3 separate regions of the Homo sapiens genome follow, and regions 2 and 3 are each linked to region 1. Evidence: promoter capture Hi-C in 16 types of primary human blood cells and fetal thymus (Javierre and others, 2016). All regions are on one chromosome and are shown on one strand. Each heading gives the region's core, a stretch centred on a gene start or on the middle of the fragment in contact. The rest is flanking DNA. Distances are from core to core; before and after follow the strand shown.

Region 1 (5,101 bases), core at 888-3,387:
ATGTGTATATAGAAACGTATTTGTATAGTAATAATGATAATAACTATCCCTTTTAGGAAAAAACAGATATGGCAAAAAAAAAAAAAAAAAAAAACCCCACCAAGAGGATATGTTATCCCTATGAAGTGAAGTGCAAGGTGTGCATATATTGAGAAGAAAGGATGCTGCCACTTTTGACTTTATATACAGCTATATTGTTTGTATTTTTTTCTCTTGTATCACATTGTTAATTTCCAAAATTGTTTTGAAAGCAGGTAATAAAACAGTATGCCTACTATGATCATTTTTATTAAATTTTTTTTTGTTTTTGTGACAGAGTCTTGCTCTGTCCCCCAGCCTGGAGTGCAATGGCAAAATCTCCACTCTCTGCAACCTCCACCTCTTGGGTTCAAGCAATTCTCCTGCCTCAGCCTCCCGAATAGCTGGGACTACAGGTGCCCATCACCACACCCAGCTAATTTTTGTATTTTTAGTAGACACGGGGTTTTGCCATGTTGGCCAGGCTGATCTCAAACACCTGACCTCAGGTGATCAGCCCGTCTCGGCCTCCCAAAGTACTGGCTGGGATTACAGGTGTGAGCCACCACGCCCAGACACCTTTATTAAAAATTAATGTCCATATGTACTTATTGGTAATGGGAATGGTCTGAAAGGACAGTCAATTCTGCTATAACATGTGCTTTGAGATTAAATTTGTTCCAATGTGATTAATATACCAGAAAATAATTTGAGCATACTGCCTATGCTCATGTGTGATTTTATTTTCAGTGAAAAAGAGTAGTTGAACTTTAAAAAACTGAACTGAAAAACAGAAAGGCTTAGGATGCACAAAATACACCCACCACTTATAGTAACACCCTCACTTCACCTGTGTGTTGTGAGCCTTGACACCCATATGTCATATTGCAACTTTCTGTCTGATTTCAGATAACCCACATTTCAACAAGCTAAAGTAACTTGCAGTTTGCAAATCTTCCAATGCCTAATTTCCAAAACAAGTTTCAGGTCTTTTTCAAGGTAAAGCATCATATTTATTTTAGTATTTATGTATATCTTAACCATGTAACGTGTGAAAGTGTGCTACCATTTTTATTAGGCTCTCATCCTTTTTTTCTTGTTCCTTGTGGGTCATTATGAAGTTTTTGAGTATTTTACCCTAATCACATTTTTTCTCACAAGTCCCGTGGTTTTTATTGCACAATTTTGTACAGTATAGTGATTTTTAGGAATGGATATATCACATTATAGCAAAACTGACCATACATGTACCAAAATGTTAATAGCGTTTTGGGCAGCTTATTATTGCTTATCTATAGTTTCTATATTTTTCTAAAACAATCGTGCATTGATACTTTAATTAGATCTATGTAAACATCTTTAAATGATGAAATGGCAGCTAAAGGATGATTACAGCTGTTTTGGGTAAAGAGCTGAGGCTATTCTGGCAAGCTCCACATATTCACTGGTAATGTAATAAATTAAGTGCCTTCTAATCTACTTAAAAGGTACAATCACTTAAGCTCTTTCTGTAAAACAGAAACAGGTCTCACAGCAACATCTTGGCACCTTCTTTAATCAGAAAGTTCCCATAAGTACTAAGAAGAATAGAGAAGATGTGACTAGCCAATTTTCCATTAAATAATGTAGATTATGTAATAAGCCAAATGCCCCTAAACTGGTTGCAAACATTCAGAAGTGGTAATAACATGATTCAGATACAGAAATATAGATAGGCAATAAGGAGCCAGATATTCAGTGCTTACTGACTTTCAAGCTATTATTAAGTAGCTCGCCTATACACAGTCTCTGTAGGAAATAAAGAAACTACAAGCTTGAACACATTGTAAATTTCTAAATGAGGAGAAAAAAAGGTTTTTCTATGTGACTTGATGCTTGAATTTCTATCCAGTTTTTCAGAGTGAACATATACCTGCGTTATCACTTTTTTCTTTCCGAGACACTATTATGATGTTTTTTCTCTTCTTTTTTAAGTAGTAACTTGCTCCACCTACAGTCAAACTGCACTGTATGACTTTGATTTGGGTATGAGTCCTCTTTTCCCTCCCCCACATGCCCTGTTTCTGGCCCAGCGCCCACTGAACTCTGTACTTGTTCTTGATCCTTGTATTTTCCTGTCTCTCTACACAGAATCGGCTGTTGAGTGTGCTCTCAGTGGAGCTTTGGTTTTAGCTGTTCTCTGACAAAGAGCTTGTTCTGAGCTGCACATCTCGTCCTCTTTGTTCAGCCTCAGGCTTCAAGCATTGAATCCTAAATATTCTCCAGCTGGGAATCAGACAAGGGCAGAAATGAAGAACCCAGAAGCCCAGCAGGATGTTTCAGTTTCCCAGGGATTTCGCATGTTGTTTTACACGATGAAACCCAGTGAAACTTCATTCCAAACATTAGAAGAGGTGCCTGATTATGTAAAAAAGGTGAGACTTTATTGGAAGAGGCTACTCTTATTCTTGCTGCTTTCTTAATAAATGGTAAGGTCAATCTCCTTAGGGTTTTGTTCACTTTCATTATTCAAATGATTACATTCTAATAATAATAATTCAGTTTCTTAAAGGCGTGAAGCAAAAGTAGAATTTCCACTTGAATTTTCTTACAATCCATAGCCATCTTCACCTGTAAATTCCCTCTTTTATATGTCACTCCAGAATATGACAAAAACAAAAGTTTAAAGTTTTCCTGGACTCCATGGCATTGTAAATGTAGCTATTGGAAGCTCAATGACAAATAGTTACACCACATCAGTAAACTTTGTAACAATTTCATTTTTAAATCTTTCACTTGTCCACCCCTTCCAGGGAAACTATTTCCTCTTTCATTTGGTAGAGTAGTTCAGCAGAATGAAGGATATGCAGCTTGACCAGGTCCAGCTCTGACTTCCTAAGTTTGAATTTGACCCAAGTTTTCTTTGAAACTCTGAAGTGCTCAGAGGCACATTTCACTTCTGGTTCCTGGCTATGATTGGAAGTGGAAATATCCAGAATTAGAACTTGAATACTGAAGTTCCCCACCCTATCAAAGTTATTCCTACAACACTCACTAGTTCATGGCAGAAATAGAAAAAAAATGACATCATAGAATATGTTATTGAGAGTTCAGTTTAGAAAGCTTCAAAACTCATGATTAGCTTCCAAATGAGTAAAATCCGTATCTTTTTCAAGATTAGATATTACACTTTCTTTCTGAGTTTTTAAGTTAAAAAAAGTGGCACTGATATCTTCATAAATTATTATTGTTTATACTGCAATATCAAACCAAATTCAATGCTCCATCACCAATAGTGGAGCTTTCAAAACATCTCTTATTATGTGAAACAAAAATCAAAACCAAATGAATAAAATCTGAATCATGTTTTAAGCAAACATGTAAAATTACCATATTCTCTAAAATTCTAAGCAGAAAATTGTCTCTACTCTTTGAATTTCATCATTAGAAATAGTTCTGGTAAGTCTAATATGAAAAATTAGAATTATGTGCATCTTTAAGGAAAGCCTCTTGAAGTGGGTCTAAATTATACATGTAGAGACAATAGACCTCTAATTATCTACCTTATTCTAAATGTATTTTTTAAACTAATTTGGAAGATGTTCCTCTTAATCTTATAATATTATAATTATCGTGGTTATATCTATGATTACATTTCATATTCAAATTGGATGATAGAATTTGAGCACATGTTTAGTGTATGTCTAAAATAATTAGACTTCTTTACCACTGTGTAGGAAGTAATCCTCTAAAATGAGTGTCTACCATCTCCTGCAGGGCTTCCCAAATCTGGGCCTTTCAATTCTGAAATGACTAATCAGGAAATGTAAAATAATTTCATATGGAACATAATAGCATCTCTTTTCTGCAACTTCCTTTCCAGGCAACTCCATTTTTCATTTCTTTGATGCTGCTTGAACTTGTTGTCAGCTGGATTCTCAAAGGAAAGCCACCAGGTCGCCTGGATGATGCTTTAACGTCAATCTCAGCTGGTGTTCTGTCTCGACTTCCAAGGTGAGTTAGATGGTCAACAACGCTGAGCATAAAAACTGAAATTGCCTAAGTATGAGGGGCAAAGGAACCCAATGCATGGGAGAATTAGTTTATTTACACAAATTTTCCCAAAAAATTCAGTTCATGTCATTATTTAAAATTTTGATATTTTGTTCTTCATTGATTTTTTGCACTTATTTAAAAAATCACCGCAAACATTATTTATCTTGACTCTGTTGATATCCCTTTGAAATGAGTGCTTCATTTGCCTTATTGAGGTTCCAACTCTGAGTTATGGTCTGGTTCTCTATTAAAATTGTGTTTTGTCTCTTCCAGCTTCAGAAAGAATAGCTGTCTCGGGTGTAGCCATTCCCTAGAGCAGGTCACACAAATCTCTGAATAACTACAATAGTTTGCTAATTGGTGTCTGGCTCTAGTACAACCCCGTTTGCAGCCAAGCATTTCCATAATATGAATCCAGTGGAAACCCTTCACTGGCTCTCTATTGCCTCAAGTGTAAGGTAAAAATCCCTGTCTTGAACTATAGAGAACATTGTTTCTCTGGCTTTGCTTTTGGATCGTCCACTCTCCTGTCTATTTGTCATGTTTATCCTGTCATGCTTTACTACTTGCCATTGTCCACATGCCACAGGCACTTCCCTCTGCCTGGAAAGCCATCCAGGCCAATTCAGATTCATTCATTAGGTCTAAGCATAGACATCACACTCTTCAGCAAGCTTTATCTGTTTTCCAACCTTATGTTAGGCATTCCTGCATTCCTACACTACAGTCCCATGGAATTGTGTGCTTATCCCAGATCTAGAATTATCACATGACATGATGCTTACCTGTTTTTCTCTCAGCCCTTCCTGCTAGCTTGCACACAACTTGAGAGCAAGAGGTGTATGTTCTTAATAGTTTTAGCTCCTGTGCCTGGAATGATGTCTGTTGCATGTAGTTTCCCCAAAAGCAGTAATATTCCTGTAACATTATGTTGATGATAAAATTAGATGATATTGGGACTCAATAATAGTAAGATATAAATGACCTACTATTTTTTAGAAAGAGTACATTATAATGTGTGAAGAGGAAAGACCAATAAATGGAAGTC
Region 2 (5,101 bases), core at 1,280-3,779, 490 kb before region 1:
TTTCTATGCCGTAGTACCTTCTTAAGCTTTCACCAATAATAATTCCATTTGGAGATATTTACTGAATGTCTCCTTTCAATGGGAGATAATTCTCTTTTATGGGTCACGTCGTTCCTAGTTGATGGGACAAAAGTACCCATTTCCCAAGTTACAATAGAAGGAAGGTGCAGGAGAGTGGGTGAAGAACTGGACTAGGAAGCTGAATCCTGGATTCCAGGCTTGGGTCCTTCCCTTACTATAAATGTATCTAAGTTATATAAATAGCTGAACTGATCCCCAGTCTCCAAATTTATATTTGTAACACTCCATACCTGACCTACCTCATCAAAAACAAGATAACAAACATGAAATCTCATTATACTCTTAAGATGCCATACACATTTGAGATATTACACTTATAGATCGATATTAGTGTCAAAAAACTCAAGAATGCTATCATTTAGAAATGAGATTTGAAAGGTTAATAGATATGAAAATAAAAAGGAAAAGAGAAAGGTGATTGCAAGGGCAAAAGAAGCACTTAAGATAGCAGATCGAGAAGTCCTAACCTGAAAATCTGCCTCTGGGAAGAGAAAAAGATGAGAATGCGAGAAACACCTAAGACTTTTGTTCCTATGGCCAAGAACTATGGTATATTTCTTAAACTGTTGTTGTTTAAGATTGCCAGTGAGTGGCATGTAGCCTCAGGAAGATCTATCCTAAAATGTTTTGTTGGCTGAATTTTCTGGGATGGTAATTCATCGAAAATATTTTCCCTTCTGCCTTTGAATGACATGCTTTTTCTAAGCCAAGGAGTGGTTTAGATGGAAAACCAAATCGTATGAAACATCTCAGGTTTTTGCTCATCATGGCAACTTGTTTTCTCCTGTGGGAGGTAACTCCCTCAAAGAAATAATGCCTGACAATTCAGCAACTGAATTGAGCTAAGACTTCTGAAATGAAATAATGCAATTGGCAGGGAGAAATTGCTGAAAAAAGTACAGGTTTTTCATAAGTTCTGTTAACTAAGAAAACAGAAAATCTCTTAAAAATTCACTTTTTGTGTTAAAGGGGCATTTTGACAATATGCTTTTAACTTTATGATGTTAAAGATTATGTATACCTTATCTTAAGCAATGATGTAGGCTCATTTTAGAATAAATCAGATGAAAGCCTCCTTTTCCTTTCATTTTTCTTTGCATGGAGAAAGGAAACAAGAATTATTAAAAGCAAAGGGTAGCTTTCATTTATTCTCTTATATATAAGGCTATGATTTAAAAGTAGAAACAAAACCAGAAACTCCAGACTGATAGGTCCTCAGGTTCAGTGGTATATCTTTTGAAGTGATTTTTGTTTGACAACCACCTATCCTTTTCTTAGAACTATGCCCTAGACATTTCCTTGAGTTTCAAAAGAGTGGCTAATATACCCAAAGAATAAAGTATCCTCAAGTCTTCCTTTTTTAAATTCCTACTTTTCTACTCCTCTGCTAGTGAAGTTGTTTGGAGAGGTCTCAGGGAATAGTGAATAAGCATTGACCACCTCCCTATGTTTTAGTAGCCCACAAAATTGAAAAGTTTCTAACTATATCGAACAATTAGGCTTTGCCTAATTTTTTTTTTTTGAGACGGAGTCTCGCTCTGTCTCCCAGGCTGGAAGGCTGGAGCGCAGTGGCGCGACCTCAGCCCACTGCAAGCTCCGCCTCCCGGGTTCACGCCATTCTCCTGCCTCAGCCTCCCGAGTAGCTGGGACTACAGGTGCCCGCCACCACGCCTGGCTAATTTTTTGTATTTTTAGTAGAGATGGGGTTTCACCATGTTAGCCAGGATGATCTCGATCTCCCGACCTCGTGATCCACCCACCTCGGCCTCCCAAAGTGCTGGGATTACAGGCGTGAGCCACCATGCCAGGCCAGGCTTTGCTTATTCTGTGGCCATTGAAAGATGATCACTTGCTGTGATGAATTAAAAATTTTTAAGTAGGTTAAAGATTTTGTTTTTTTTTTTTTGTTTTCTGTATTTCTGAGGTAGCTGCCTAATGTAATGAGAATAAACCTCAGAAGAAGAATATTTATTTGAGTTGTGAAATAATGTTCTCTTGGTCAAACAATGACAAAACTTTTTTAAAGACAAAAATGAAGAATGTTAATATATGAGTCTGGGTTGTAAAGTATAACAAGCTTAGATGATTTCTGCATGGATAGGTTTTTATATGTGAAAAGTTGTAATTGCAGATTGAGAAGTCAAGGGTTTCAGGAACACACTTAAAATCATGAAATAAGACATAGACTTTACCTTGATTCTTATGGTCACCTCAGTAAAGGAAAGTGTTCACAGCAAGGATAAGGTAAGTGGGCTTGTTGGTTTCCTGAGAAGATAGTTATACTGGAAACACTTCTAGTTATTCACTTAATTTTAAAAGCACTTATATAGAAACAGAGAAAGCACATGAATTTGGCAGGAAAAACAGAAGAGTAAAGCAAGAAATGAGAACAAAGAAAGAGGTGTGGAAAAGAAGTCCTTGGGAGAAGCAATCCAAGTGAGATGCAAGTGTACTTTTACCATTTGTTTTACCATTTGTGCTCTCTAAAATTTTAATGATTAGTCTTCAGTTCTGTTTATCAGATCAGTGTGTAATTCTATGGATTTGAGAATTACACACTGATGTGATAAACAGAACTGAAATATAGCAAGTATATTTAAAATATAGCAAGTATAATATAGCAAGCATATTTAAAAATACTGGCTAATGCCCTCACTTCCTTCAAGTGTTTGTTCGAATGTCACCTTATCAAAGAATATATAGATAACTCAGATTCTCTGACCTGCCCTCCTTCTCCAATCCCTGCACTTGGGAAGCTCCCTTCCCCTACTCCACCTGTTCATCTTTTCATTGTACTTACTATGTTCCCATAAGCTTTGTAATTTACTTGTTATTTTCTTTGTTCCTGTCTGCTCCCTGCCACCCATCCTGCCCCCCAACCCTTTTTGGACAGAAACTCCTTGAAGTCAAGCCCCTTAGACCTTGATTAATTCCACAAATCTAGAGCAGTGTCTGGCATATCATAGGTGCCCTTTTTTTTTTTTTTAACAAATGCATTTTCTTTACAATTAATAATCTGTTGTGATATTTTCAGGATTTTAAAAATCATTCATCTTATATTTTATATGCATGTGTAATCCTTGCATGTTGAGCTAAGATTTTTATGGCTTGTGTATTCCCATTTTATCTCTTGAGGTAAAATTATATATGGTTAAAAAGGATTTGTTGTTGCTTGACCTGATGTTTGCCTCCTGAAAAATCTCTCTAACATAGTTTAGCAAGATGCTAACAAGTCCCAATGAAATACATCTGCTCTACTGTTGTCTCCATCTTCAAACTTTTAAAACTGTCGTAGATTACTGGAAACACAACTGCATTTGAAATTAATTCAATAAAACAGTAGTTGCAGGGTTTAAAACAAAATTGTCAGCCAAAGAAAATGGCTTGTAAATGTCTAGCCATCACTCCAGTGTTGCAGAAGTAAGTTTTCTGGCAATGAGGGAAGTGGGGCTCCCTGCTTGCTGACACATAAATGACTAAACTGGAGAGATTTCTTAGTCTGTCTGCTAAGCAGTGGTGTGGATGTGTAACTGGATGCTGGTATTGCGGTGCAGTTGTAGGTGAAAATCCTGAACGTGATGAAAGACAATCTTTGGTAATAGAATTGCAGGAAAGCAAGGGTTTGAATCAACCAGGTACAGTCTTGCTGCTTTCTCTTTCTCATTTGTATAAGATTTTTTCTATAATCTAGAAAGCATAAGGGCAATGACTTCCAATTTAATTGATGGCTCAGTCTGACATAATTGATTCCACATGGTGGGTGACAAATGACTCTTGGGTTAACCCCTCTTCCTATTCAAGAAATAGATAAATCTACTAGGATTTTCTCTTTTCTCACAAAACTATCACTTGGGCATCAATCTATCTATCTTTGATGAAATTTTAAGTATTTCATAAACTGGTGAAACCTCTTATTTTTGGTTTTTGGGGGAAGGTGGAAAATAATAGAATTTTCTTACATTCTGTCATTGAGTTGATGGATGGCTGAAGGAAAAGCAGCATCCTAGGTTTTTCAGAGACATGTCTATGCTGAAGTCAGATTATATGGTGACTTGCAGTGTAACTATACTAGTATCTCTTTACATCTGTACACAAGAAAAATTTCTGTTAAATAACAATATCAGTTTGGAATTGCTCAAGGGACTTAATAGAACAGCTTGGAATATGGCCATGGTAATACACATTCAGAAGGTCAAAATTTCTCAGCTAGAGAATGGTTCAGTATGCTCATTCATCACTTTCTACTTTTGCTTATATGAAACAAAAACATACAGCTACATGCAAGTTGAACTGTAGCATCCGCACAATCAGACTTAAAAACAAAGTACTAGATCCCAACCTACTGCTGTGAATTCGCAGGATTCATCCTGATATAATCTTTATGATACAGATGTTTATTTTCAAAACTCACGCAAAGAAATTAGCTGAATGACAAACAGTGCTGATATCTTTTATGTATATAACAAATTTCATCCAAAAATTGCAGTGCACTATATAATTAGCCAGTTAATAATTTTATATAAAATCCTGAGTAAAATATTCTCAACTTCTCAAGAATCAGATGACTGAGAGAAGACAAAGTTCAATTTTTCCTCAATCTATTGGATAGGGTAGATGAGAAAGATGGCTTTTGCAGCATTCCTGGAAAGTTCACAGTTTAGGATTCACAGCCTCTGATTCTTAGATGAGGACAGCTGATGCTATACATATTACTGAAGCCAAGTGGTGGGATGATATATTCTATCCAAGCTGTTTCCATGAGTGAGTAGGCTCTGGCCTTTCTAGCTTGGTTTCTCAATGCTGGAGAAGACAACACACATTCTTTGGAAGTTGAGTCCAAACCAAAACTCTACTTCATCTGCAGTTCTGCCTCTGGGTGGTCCTGGGTGACCCAGTTTAGCTTGGGGAAGCCCTGGGAAATTTGATATGGCCACATCCAGTTTAAGCCCTACTCCTGGGTGGTCTTCAGCAGTTAATAGAGTTCAGTTGTGTGGCCATTATAAGAGCTTCAGAGAAGTCC
Region 3 (5,101 bases), core at 1,337-3,836, 360 kb before region 1:
TTTATTTGTGTTTTAATTTTTTTCATCAATATTTTCTAGTTTCATGTGTACAAGGACTTCCACTTCCTTCGTTAAGTTTGTTCATAAATTTGCATTCTTTTTGAGGGTATTGTAAATAGGATTGCTTTCTTATTTTGTTGTTGTTGTTTTTTTTGAGACGGAGTCTCGCTTTGTCACCCAGGCTGGAGTGCAGTGGTGCAATCTCGGCTCACTGCAAGCTCCGCCTCCCATGTTCATGCCATTCTCCTGCCTCAGCCTCCCAAGTAGCTGGGACTACAGGTGCCCGCCACCACGCCCAGCTAATTTTTTGTATTTTTTTAGTAGAGACAGGGTTTCACCATGTTAGCCAGGATGGTCTCCATCTCCTGACCTCGTGATCCACCCACCTCGGTCTCCCAAAGTGCTGGGATTACAGGTGTGAGCCACCGTGCCTGACCAGGATTGCTTTCTTAATCTCTTTTTTGAACAGTTCTTTGATAGTGTGCGGAAATGCAACTGATACTTGTATGTTGATTTTGAATCAACAACTTTGCTGCATTTCTTAATTCTAACAGGTTTTTTTTTTTTGGTGGAGTCTTTGACATTTTCAATGTGTAAGGTCATGTCATCTGCAAACAGAGATAATTTTGCTTTTTCCTTTTCAATTTGGATGACTTTTATTTCTTTTTTGCCTGATTGTTATATCGAGGACTTCCAGTACTCTGTTGAATAGAAGTGGTGGAGAATGGGGCAATCATGCCTTATTTCTCATAGGAAAATCTTTCAGTTTTTCACCATTGAGTATGATATCAGCTGTGAGATATATGTATGTATGTGTGTATATGTATATATATATACACACATATATATTTAATACATGACCTTTTTAATGTTGAGGTAAAGTCCTTCTCTACCTACTTTGTTGAGGGATTTTCATGTAAAAGGATTTTGAATTTTGTCAAAAGCTAGAAAGCCTGGTGTTCAAATCCAAATATTTGCTCCCAATCTAAAATGTTTCAGAACCTTCTTTTCTTTCCAAAGCTCTCTTGTTTATACTTTTACTTTTTTTTCCAATTATGCTTATGTCACAGAAGGACATTGTTACTCCCATTTTTCTTGTCTATAAACACTCTTTGAACAAAGACAGCCCTCAGGATGTGTGAGCTACTTGAATGTATTAACAATGTATTAAACTAATAGTTAACAATGTTTAACTCAGTGCATGGCAAAAAAGTAGTGGTCAAGAGATATTTATTGAATAAATAAATAAAAACTGAATAGATGACTAGGAAGTTGGTATGGGTCAGGGGTCAAATTATTATAACAGCAGAAAAAGGAAGCAATGACTATAATCCAAATCATTAGAAAATTATTGTAACAGGACAGTGTTCTGTATAGCCTCCCCTGACTCCTGGGAATGGCAATGGCTTCAGAGATGCTGTTATTTATACCACATTAAAATATTAATTAAATATTTAAAAATAGGCATGTTTCATAACACTATAAAAGTCTACATACTAGGATTCTAGTGGGGATTCTTTTTTAACATCTGCAAGATAAATTTAGTGACACCACTAAGAATGCCTGAGGCTACAAAAAAAAGGCAGAGAAGAAATGAATCACTTGGCATAGTAATGACTAAGAAAATAAGGAAATATTTTTCTATTAGTCAAACATCAAAATGTGTAGCAAAAAAAAATCAAAAAGCTTCAAAACAACAAAACCAAAGTAACATTGCTACGGGCAGGAAAAAAATATCAACCAAGTGATACAGGTTATTTCAAAGGGATTTCAGCTCTTTTCCATGTTCAACAGCAAGGTGGCGGCAATTCAGGTTTCAATGATTTACTTTACCAACGATGATAAATGTGTTACAAATTATTATTATAAACAGTGAGGAAGAGAAGAATGAAAAAGCGGGAGACTGAAGTGAGAGGTGTTGGGAGGCACTGAGTGGAGCCTCCTGGGGAACTAAGATGCTGTGTTTGAGCAATCTGTGCTTTCTGAAAACCAAAAGTTCAATTTTTTGTATCATTCTTTTAATAAATGACATTTCTTGTAGGCATAATATATATGTTTATCAATAAGAAATCAAACTGTGTAATGCCAGCTTGAGCAAAGCAAGTTTCCGTTGCAGGGTTTCGTGTGTTGCAAACCATTTGAAATTGTAAATAAAACTTTCATGTTTTTCTTTCCTATCCAATATTTTGGGGGCATTTTGAAGGGAACTTTTTTTATTATTCAAAAAGGAAATGATTAATCTGCCTGTGTCCATTGCCAGCCAGATGGTGACATGAATTTGCAGTTTATTTAAGGATTGCCAAAAGTGGGGGAAGGGGAATCCTTCCTATTTGTGGTATACCAATAATTTGAGAATAAACGAAATTATTTACCGTGAGGTTGCATATCAGATAATGTTTCATGTATCTTCTCTGAAGTCACCACGAAAAAATGCAGCCGAAATCATATTATATGCTGACAGCTTTATGAGACTATTCAAATATTTCGTCTTGCAACTTTCTTATAGTATATATTTTATACTAACTTTTTAATAGTAATATATTAACTGTTTGTAGTAATATATATGGAGATATATATATGTGAAGAGAGATATGTATAATATAATATAATTACATAATAATATATATATATATGGAGGCAGAGCGAGAGAGAGAGAAGCAACTTAGGCAATGTAAAGGTCTGAAGCTGCTTAATTCACACAGATTTTTAGGGTATTAGGTATTTTAGGGGTATCAAAAATTCTGATTTGACATGAGATTAAAACGACTTTCAGTTTACATTTATAACGTAGTTATTTAAAAAATATGTTGGCCGGGTGCAGTGGCTCACACCTGCAATCCCAGCACTTTGGGAGGCCGAGATGGGTGGATCACTTGCGGCCAGGAGTTCGAGACCAGCCTGGCCAACATGGTGAAACCTCGTCTCTACTAAAAATACAAAAATTAGCCGGGCATGGTAGTGTGCCACCTGTAATTCCAGCTATTTGGGGGGCTGAGGCACTAGAATCGCTTGAACCTGGGAGGCAGAAGTTGCGATGAGCTGAGATCGGACCACTGCACTCCAGCCTGAGTGACTGAGCGAGACTCTGTCTCAACAACAATGACAATAACAATAACAACAAATTATGTTGACATTCTTTTTATCAGTATTTTATAAAATGAGTTTTCTTAACTATGGAAAAATTCAAACATATACAAATGTAGAGAATATAATAAACTTTCTTATCTCTGTTACTCAGCTTCAACAGTTATCATCTTGGGACCAATCTTTTTCCTTTTCCCATAAGACCTCTCAAAATTATTTTGAATTCTCTATTTGGTATAATTTCATTCATAAATATTAAGTGCTACTGAAAGTTAATCTTTTCAACAAAAAAGAGGGTGAGATAAAAGGGTAACTGAAGCAAATCCTCTGATCTCAGCCATTCAGCTATAGGACAGAGAAATGATATTACTCAGCCTGAAATTGTGCCCTGAAGAAGCTTCATAAGTATTACATGTTTTTTACCTTTTAACTGTTTTTAAAATTGACAACAAAACTCAACAGTAATGAAACTCAAAGTACTGTGAATCTGTGAAGATGAATTATACACTTCCTAGCAGTTTAAGGCGATTTCTGATGTGGCCAGGAGTCATTTAGGTATACCGACTTTTTCAGTTCAGTTTATTCCTTTGGCCTTGGGATCTAACACAAACCAGTTCAATGCAAGCCAGAACCCAGAATGAACCTAGAAATCCTGAGTGACATCCATTGCGTGCTTTCAGTGACAGCAAGAAAATAATATAGTCACTTTAGTCGTTTTATAGGATTGCATACTTTCACTTTATATTCAATAAGTCATTAAAACTCGTTCACTGTTTATTCAGTCATTCATCCATGTATATGTATCTACTTGTGTATCTATTAATTTAATGAACATTTATGTAATACTCTGAGCGATGTGGTAAGGCTACAAAGGTGAAATACAAATCTATGGCCTCTTATACAATGGAAGATTATTCAGTGATTTTTAAAAAATGAGCTATCAAACAAACAAGGGACATGAAGAAAACGTAAACGCTGATACGGTAACAAGTCAATCTGAACATGCTACATACTGTATGATTCCAACTATATGGCTTTCTGGAAAAGGCAGGTGGAGACAGTAAAAAAGATCAGCAGTTTCCAAGGTTTGGGAGAAGGGAAGAATAAATAGGTGGAACACAGGATTTTTAGGGCAGTGAAACTATTCTGTATGATACTGTAATGGTGGTTCCATGTCATTAACATTTGCCTAGACCCACAGAATATACAATACAAAGAGTGAACCTTAATGTAAACTATGGACTTCAGTCAAGAATAACGTATCACTGTTGGCTCATTAACTGTAGCAACTGTACATCACTAATGCAAGCTGTTAATAATAAGGGAAATGGGAAGGGGTATATGAGAATGCTCTGTACTTGGAGCTCAATTTTTCTGTAAAGTGAAAACTGCTCAAGAAATAAAGTCTATTAATTTAAAAACAATGTGGGACATCTGCCCTGCAGAATTTTAAGATATAGTTAGGAGTGAATGTATAAATAGCTACCTACATTAGTTTCCTAGGGTTGCCATAACAACTTCCCACAAACTCGGTGGATTTAAGTAATGGAAGGTTAACCTTTCACGGTTTGGAGGCCAGCAGTCTGAAGTCAAGGTGTCTACAGGGCTTACTCTTCCCAAAGGCTCTAATGGGGCAATCCTGCCTTGCCTCTTCCATGTGGCTCCAGAGTTTCTTGGGTTTTGGTCAATCCAATCTCTCCCTCCATCTTTACATGGTCTCCTGTTTTCCCTGTGTGGCTCTGCTCTGTGTGTCTCTTATTGGTTCACTTGTATTGGATTTAAAGCCCACACATATAATCCAGGATGATCTCATCCTCAGATTCTTAATTATATCTGCGAAGAGTGTTTTGCCTAGTAAGGTCACATTCAGAGGTTCAGGGATTATGATGAGATGTACCTTTTAGGGAGGCCACCATTCAACCCACTGCACCATCCATAATATGATTTGCACTTTATTAATAGATTAGGAATGCAGTGCTCTGTGAGGAAATTGAGGATGCCTCATAGGGAAGGTGAC

What was found. Contacts are between HindIII fragments. The CHiCAGO score rates a contact against its expected background, and 5 or more counts as called.
Region 2: a fragment that was not itself captured here is called in contact with the fragment with the promoter of AGMO in region 1 in 1 of 17 cell types (endothelial precursors); the score reaches 5.2 in endothelial precursors.
Region 3: a fragment that was not itself captured here is called in contact with the fragment with the promoter of AGMO in region 1 in 1 of 17 cell types (endothelial precursors); the score reaches 5.4 in endothelial precursors.

The regions. Positions count from the first base shown.
Region 1 is chr7:15,559,051-15,564,151 of GRCh38, reverse strand. AGMO (alkylglycerol monooxygenase) reads left to right here and starts at 2,137. Exons shown (of 13, transcript NM_001004320.2): 1 at 2,137-2,432; 2 at 3,881-4,011. The coding sequence starts at 2,307. LOC124901591 (a long non-coding RNA gene) reads right to left here. Exons shown (of 3, transcript XR_007060217.1): 2 at 4,839-4,971; 3 at 3,952-4,056. The HindIII fragment of the contact is 1,289 bases long and covers 1,834-3,122 here.
Region 2 is chr7:16,044,705-16,049,805 of GRCh38, reverse strand. No RefSeq gene overlaps it. Among named protein-coding and RNA genes, the nearest start is that of CRPPA-AS1, 160 kb to the left of the region's middle. The HindIII fragment of the contact is 737 bases long and covers 2,161-2,897 here.
Region 3 is chr7:15,918,339-15,923,439 of GRCh38, reverse strand. No RefSeq gene overlaps it. Among named protein-coding and RNA genes, the nearest start is that of LINC02587, 230 kb to the right of the region's middle. The HindIII fragment of the contact is 1,795 bases long and covers 1,689-3,483 here.